2 separate regions of the Homo sapiens genome follow, and region 1 is linked to region 2. Evidence: promoter capture Hi-C in human tissues and cell types (Jung and others, 2019). All regions are on one chromosome and are shown on one strand. The core of a region is centred on a gene start or on the middle of the fragment in contact, and the rest is flanking DNA. Distances in the headings are between cores, read along the strand shown. Region 1 holds the start of SERPINE1 (serpin family E member 1). Region 2 holds the start of NAT16 (N-acetyltransferase 16 (putative)).

Evidence for each region. The method cuts DNA at HindIII sites, captures the fragments that hold promoters and counts their contacts. A contact is called where the count stands out against the background at its distance.
Region 1: a contact is called between the fragment with the promoter of SERPINE1 here and the fragment with the promoter of NAT16 in region 2, in 1 of the 25 tissues and cell types used here (liver).

What each region holds. Positions count from the first base shown.
Region 1 is chr7:101,124,986-101,128,492 of GRCh38, forward strand. It overlaps SERPINE1 (serpin family E member 1), which reads left to right and starts at 2,119. Exons shown (of 9, transcript NM_000602.5): 1 at 2,119-2,259; 2 at 3,408-3,507. The coding sequence starts at 3,409. RefSeq lists enhancers at 995-1,774, 2,555-3,334, 3,335-3,507. The HindIII fragment of the contact is 16,005 bases long and covers 1-3,507 here.
Region 2 is chr7:101,178,439-101,181,985 of GRCh38, forward strand. It overlaps NAT16 (N-acetyltransferase 16 (putative)), which reads right to left and starts at 1,855. Exons shown (of 4, transcript NM_198571.3): 1 at 1,604-1,855. RefSeq lists an enhancer at 1,636-2,358 and a silencer at 1,730-2,024. The HindIII fragment of the contact is 15,471 bases long and covers 1-3,547 here.

The DNA of each region.
Region 1 (3,507 bases), core at 869-3,368, 53 kb before region 2:
CTGTGACTCTGCTATCAGCTGTTGCCATGGATTCTCCCAACTGAACCCCACCACATACACTAAACCCAACAGTCCGTGGACCCCAAGTATGCCATCTCTCCAATACAGGACCCCCTGGGCAGCACCCTGGCCACCCTTCCATCCACAACATCCAGACCACACGGCCAAGGGCACCTGACCCTGTCAAAACCCCAAATCCAGCTGGGCGCGGTGGCTCATGCCTGTAATCCCAGCATTTGGGAGGCCGAGGCAGCCGGATCACGAAGTCAGGAGTTCGAGACCAGCCTGACCAACATGGTGAAACCCCGTCTCTACTAAAATACAAAAATTAGCCGGGCGTGGTGGTGCACACCTGTAATCCCAGCTACTCGGGAGGCTGAGGCAGGAGAACCACTTGAACCTGGGAGGCGGAGATTGCAGTGAGCCAAGATAGTGCTACTGCACTCAGCCTGGGCAACAAAATAAGACTCCGTCTCAAAACAGAAAAACAAAAAAAACAAAAAACAACAACAACAACAAAATCCACTAGTCTAGCCCTACATGCTCACCCACTGCTAGCCAGTTTCCACCCTCTACAGCAGAGGTACCCAACCTCTGGGCCAGGGGCCCGTACTGGTCCATAGCCTGTTAGGAACCAGGCTGCATAACAGGAGGTGAGTGGCAGGTGAGTGAAATTTCATCTGTAGTTACAGCCACTCCTCATCACTCGCATTACCACCAGAGCTCCACTCCCTGTCAGATCAGCGGCGGCATTAGATTCTCATAGGAGCTCGAACCCTATTCTAAACTGTTCATGTGAGGGATCTAGGTTGCAAGCTCCCTATGAGAATCTAATGCCTGATGATCTGTCACGGTCTCCCATCACCCCTAGATGGGACCATCTAGTTGCAGGAAAACAAGCTCAGGGCTCCCACTGATTCTACACGATGGTGAATTGTGGAATTATTTCATTATATATATTACAATGTAATAATAATAGAAATAAAGCACACAATAAATGTAATGTGCTTGAATCATCCCGAAACCATCCCACCCTGGTCTGTGAAAAAATTGTCTTCCATGAAACCAGTCCCTGGTGCCAAAAACGTTGAGGACCACTGCTCCACAGAATCTATCGGTCACTCTTCCTCCCCTCACCCCCTTGCCCTAAAAGCACACCCTGCAAACCTGCCATGAATTGACACTCTGTTTCTATCCCTTTTCCCCTTGTGTCTGTGTCTGGAGGAAGAGGATAAAGGACAAGCTGCCCCAAGTCCTAGCGGGCAGCTCGAAGAAGTGAAACTTACACGTTGGTCTCCTGTTTCCTTACCAAGCTTTTACCATGGTAACCCCTGGTCCCGTTCAGCCACCACCACCCCACCCAGCACACCTCCAACCTCAGCCAGACAAGGTTGTTGACACAAGAGAGCCCTCAGGGGCACAGAGAGAGTCTGGACACGTGGGGAGTCAGCCGTGTATCATCGGAGGCGGCCGGGCACATGGCAGGGATGAGGGAAAGACCAAGAGTCCTCTGTTGGGCCCAAGTCCTAGACAGACAAAACCTAGACAATCACGTGGCTGGCTGCATGCCCTGTGGCTGTTGGGCTGGGCCCAGGAGGAGGGAGGGGCGCTCTTTCCTGGAGGTGGTCCAGAGCACCGGGTGGACAGCCCTGGGGGAAAACTTCCACGTTTTGATGGAGGTTATCTTTGATAACTCCACAGTGACCTGGTTCGCCAAAGGAAAAGCAGGCAACGTGAGCTGTTTTTTTTTTCTCCAAGCTGAACACTAGGGGTCCTAGGCTTTTTGGGTCACCCGGCATGGCAGACAGTCAACCTGGCAGGACATCCGGGAGAGACAGACACAGGCAGAGGGCAGAAAGGTCAAGGGAGGTTCTCAGGCCAAGGCTATTGGGGTTTGCTCAATTGTTCCTGAATGCTCTTACACACGTACACACACAGAGCAGCACACACACACACACACACATGCCTCAGCAAGTCCCAGAGAGGGAGGTGTCGAGGGGGACCCGCTGGCTGTTCAGACGGACTCCCAGAGCCAGTGAGTGGGTGGGGCTGGAACATGAGTTCATCTATTTCCTGCCCACATCTGGTATAAAAGGAGGCAGTGGCCCACAGAGGAGCACAGCTGTGTTTGGCTGCAGGGCCAAGAGCGCTGTCAAGAAGACCCACACGCCCCCCTCCAGCAGCTGAATTCCTGCAGCTCAGCAGCCGCCGCCAGAGCAGGACGAACCGCCAATCGCAAGGCACCTCTGAGAACTTCAGGTAGGAGAAAAGCAAACTCCCTCCAACCTCTTACTTCGGGCTTAAGGCAGAGAACTCGCCTCCCCAGAATCTCCTCCCTCCATGATCCCCCGCTATTCCTCTATTTTCTTTTCCTCGGACCTGCAGCCTTGGGTCGACCCTGCCCTAGGGGTGACTGCAGGAGAGCAGGGAGGATGGTCAGGCGTCACCAACAACCCCATCACCCAGTAACAAGAACCTTGACTCTCTCAGTCCCTCTGCATCAAGACACTTACCCATTTCCCACCTCATGCCTGCTAACTTGAATGAAACAATCGCTGGGAAAGCATTAAGAGAATTAAGGCTGGGCACTGTGGCTCATGCCTGTAATCCCAGCACTTTGTGAGGCTGAGGCAGGCAGATAACTTGAGCCCAGGAGTTTGAGACCAGCCTGGGCAACATGGCAAAACCCTGCTCTCCCAAAAAAATACAAAAATTAGCTGGGCGTGCTGGTGTGCCTGTATTCCCAGCTACTTGGGAGGCTGAGGTGGGAGGATTGCTTCAGCTGGGGAGGCGGAGGCTGCAGGGAGCCAAGACTGAGCCATTGCACCCAGCCTGGGTGACAGAGCAAGACCCTGTCTCTAAAAATGAATGAAAGGAAGGAAGAAAGAGAGAGAAAGAGAGAGAGGAAAGAAGGAAGGAAGTAAAGAAGAAAGAAAGAAAGAAAGAGGAAAGAGGAAGAAAGAAAGAAAAGAAAGAAAAGAAAAGAAAGCAAATTTAAAGCTTATGCAAATCAAAGATGTTGTGATAATTGATAATTGAGTCTGGGCTAAATTCCCCCTGGGCTGCAAAGGCAGAGAGTGGTAATGACTTCTCACCTGCTTTTCTTCTAAGGCTTTTTTACGGGACACAGAGGGAAGGGAGATGGACTGGATTCCAAGATTCCCACAGGGCAAGATGGGCGAAGACTCCCTGCCACTGCCCGGGGATAAGTCAGTCTGAGTGAGACGGAGTGGGATGGGCTTAGAACCTGAACATGTCATGGTCTCTTCCTGCACCTTGCCCTAGTGTTCACTTACCACCTGCTTGCAGGAAACAAGAAGAGCAGGGCCCACAGCTGGCCAGCTCCCCTCCCCTCCCGCCTGTCTTCCAGAACGATTCCTTCACCAGCCCTCTTTCCATTGCTCTAGGATGCAGATGTCTCCAGCCCTCACCTGCCTAGTCCTGGGCCTGGCCCTTGTCTTTGGTGAAGGGTCTGCTGTGCACCATCCCCCATCCTACGTGGCCCAC
Region 2 (3,547 bases), core at 605-3,104:
AGCACCCTCCAGCCTGGCTCCGTGGAACTCTTAACTCTCATCAGATGTCTAGGCAGAGGCGGAGGCAGCTGGTGAGTCCAGGGCACTGTCAGAAATGTAGTCCAGGTATCTCCTGGACCAAGCGCCCTCCTAAAAGAGGGACAGCATTTCTTGGCCGGGCGTGGTGGCTCATGCCTATAATCCCACCACTTTGGGAAGCCAAGGGAGGCGGATCATCTGAGGTCAGGAGTTGGAGACCAGCCTGACCAACATGGAGAAACCCTCTCTCTACTAAAAAAAAAAAAAAAAAAAAAAAATACAAAAGTAGCCGGGCGTGCTGGCGCATTCCTGTAATCCCAGCTACTCAGGAGGCTGAGGCAGGAGAATCGCTTCAACCCGGGAGGCCGAGATTGTGGTGAGCCGAGATCACGCTATTGCACTCCAGCCTGGGCAACAAGAGTGAAACGCTGTCAAAAAAAAAAAAAAAAAAAAAGAGGAATAACATTTCTCTCTTCATGTCTATCCCCACATCCTTGGGGACATTCTTTAAATCTCATAAATATGAATGATCTCTTTGGGGAGGGGGTGATCAGAGTCATAGCTGGGCATGATCGGAGTCAGAGCTGGGAATGCCGGCAGCCCACCCACCCGCACCCCACTCCCACCACACCCCACACACCTGAAATATCGATGCCCTTGAGGCCGATGGCTTCTTGACACTGGGGGAGGGAGGAGAGGGAGGGAAGGGAGAGCCCAGTCGCCGGAGAGGCGGAGACAAAGAAGGCAGCTGCACAAAGCGCCCAAAGATGAGAGCGAAAAGGACGGGAATGGAGGCAGAGAGCAGACAAAAGCGGACAGGAGATGCGGCCGCAGGGGACAGGCAGGGAAGCCGGAGGAGGCTTCGACACCGAATCACAGACATGACACCTCGTGACTCTGGGCCCAGCAGATGAAAAAAAAAAAATCCTAGCACGCACCCCCTCCCCTGGGACACTGTAAATAGAAAGCAGCGTGACACACCCCCTTCGCCCCGGGGTATGGGGGGCGGGGATCCGTGGAGGGGAAGGGGTCAAGGGGAAAAGAAAGTCAGAAAAAAGGCCGTAAGAGAACAACCTTGGAAACAGAGACGGGGAGAGGCGATGAAGTGGGGGCGGGAGAGAAGGCCTAGGGGGTGGGCAGAGGCAGGGGCCGAGGAAGATGGCCCAGCCAAAGGGGGTGGGGGGAGGGCCCCAGAGGGCCACAGTAGTGGAGAAGGGGGGGCTGTCCTGCAGGGTCTTCCCGAGTGAGGGTCTTCCCTCTGCCTCTACCCCGGATTGGGGGCTTGGGCTTGGGGGAGAGGGAGATTGCAAAGGGAGCGATCTGCTTGGCGGGGGTTCCCCTGGGCGCCGGACCCTGGGGACAGGTGGGAGCGACATGGCAACAGAGGGGGGCGGGGGAGCGCTTCTGGACACCTGAAGCGCAGCCTCTGACTCAGTTTTCTGGGTCTTCGGACTGGGAGGGGCTGGGCAGAAGGGGGCGCAGCCGCTTGGTCCCCCTGAGGGGCGGTGGCCTTCTGCTGCCCCATTCTGCGGTGGAGGAGCACGCTAGCCCCCTCCCCAGTCCCCAGGCCCGGCCGCCCCCCTACCTCGCCGGAGCCGGAGCTGGAGCCAGGGCCGAGATGCCGCAAAGCCAAGCGGGGCGGGCGGCGGGCGCAGACACCCCCGGTGCCAAGAGAGAGGTCCCTTTGGAGCCCCCAAGAGTCAAAGGAGGATGACGCGCGGGGACTCGGCCGCGCTGTCGGAGCCCGACTCTAACGTCGGTCAGCGCTGGGGCAGCGCCGCAGCTCCGTTGGCGACGCGGGCCGGGGCGCCCATCGGTTCAGGGGTTCGGGTGGCACGCGTGGCTCCCCCGGCGACGCTCCGGCGGCAGCTTCGAGGGGCGGAGACCCCGGCGACGCGGAAGAAACCCGGGACGGATCCGGAGCGGACTCGTGCCCTGCTGGCGGGGCCGGGGGTCGGGGTGCGCCCTGGGCAGCTGGGTGGCCTCAAGCCCTACTGGCGAGACTCCGCCCTGTGTCCCGGCTGGGGAGTGGGACTGAGGATGGTGGTGTCTCGGGTTTTGGTGGTGGTGATGCTGGTGTTGCTGGCTTAGTTATCTCCCCACCCCACGCCCAGCACCTCCGTTCTCTGTCCGGGGGTCCCCCACTGCCCTGAAGTACCCCTCCTCCAGGAGCCACCCCTCAATGGAATCTCCTCTCTCCATTATAAGAGCGGCTGGGAAGGGGACTCCGAGCCTTCGTCCCCGGAAACTGATAGAGGGAATCAGAAACCCTAGAACACCGGGAAGGCGAAGAGACATCAAGAGACAGAAGTTGAAAGGCTGAAAAGGGCAGAGGGAGGCCAAGATCTCTCCATCTTCTCACCACTGCGTGGGTGCCTGAGCACCCTGGTTCCCCGGGTGCACAAGGCCCCTAAATCCACAATGTACCCCACGGGACAGCAGGCAGAAAGACCTCCAGGTACACAGCGCACACCCAGGCACATTCACACAGACCTCTGCACTCAGGAGGCGCTGCACCCCACGCTGATCCTGGTGGCTGGGGAGGAAGAGGGAAGTGTGGAGCTGGGACCCGGGTGGGTGCAGCGCTGCCCCTGCTCTAATAAGGCGGTGGCCCAGGCTCTTAACTCCTACAAGGTTCTCCATCCCACCTATAAAGTGAGCTCAAGACTGGGTGCGGTGGCTCAAGCCTGTGATCCCAGCACTTTGGGAGGCCGAGGCGGGGGAATCACTTGAGGTCAGGAGTTCGAGACCAGCCTGGCCAACATGGTGAAACCCCGTCTCTACTAAAAATACAACAATTAGCCTGGCCTGGCCGGGCACGGTGGCTCATGCCTGTAATCCCAGCACTCTGGGAGGCCGAGGTGGGAGGATCACCTGAGGTCAGGAGTTCAAGACCAGCATGGCCAACATGGCGAAACCCCGTTTCTACTAAAAATACAAAAATCAGCCGGGCACAGTGGCCTGCACCTGTAATCTCAGCTACTTGGGAGGCTGAGGCAGGAGAATCGCTTGAACCCGGGAGGCAGAGATTGCAATGCGCCGAGATCGTGCCACTGCACTCCAGCCTGCGCGGCAGAGCGAGAATCCAACTCAAAATAAAATAAAATAATAAATAAAGTGAGATCAGAACACCTTCAGTTCTACCCTGTAAGGAGCCAGGAAAGTGATGGACAAAGCCCTTTAGCAACTGTAAACTGCTTTGGAGATGCAGGGAATAATTTTTTTTTTTTTTTTTTGAGAGGAGTCTCACTCTCGCCTAGGCTGGAGTGCAGTGGCGCGATCTCGGCTCACTGCAAGCTCTGCCTCCCGGGTTCATGCCATTCTCCTGCCTCAGCCTCCCCAGTAACTGGGACTACAGACGCCCGCCACCACCCCCGGCTAATTTTTTGTATTTTTAGTAGAGACGGGGTTTCACCGTGTTAGCCAGGATGGTCTCGATCTCCTGACCTCGTGATCCGCCCGCCTCGGCCTCCCAAAGTGCTGGGATTACAGGCGTGGGCCACCGTGCCCGGCCGATGCAGGGAATAAT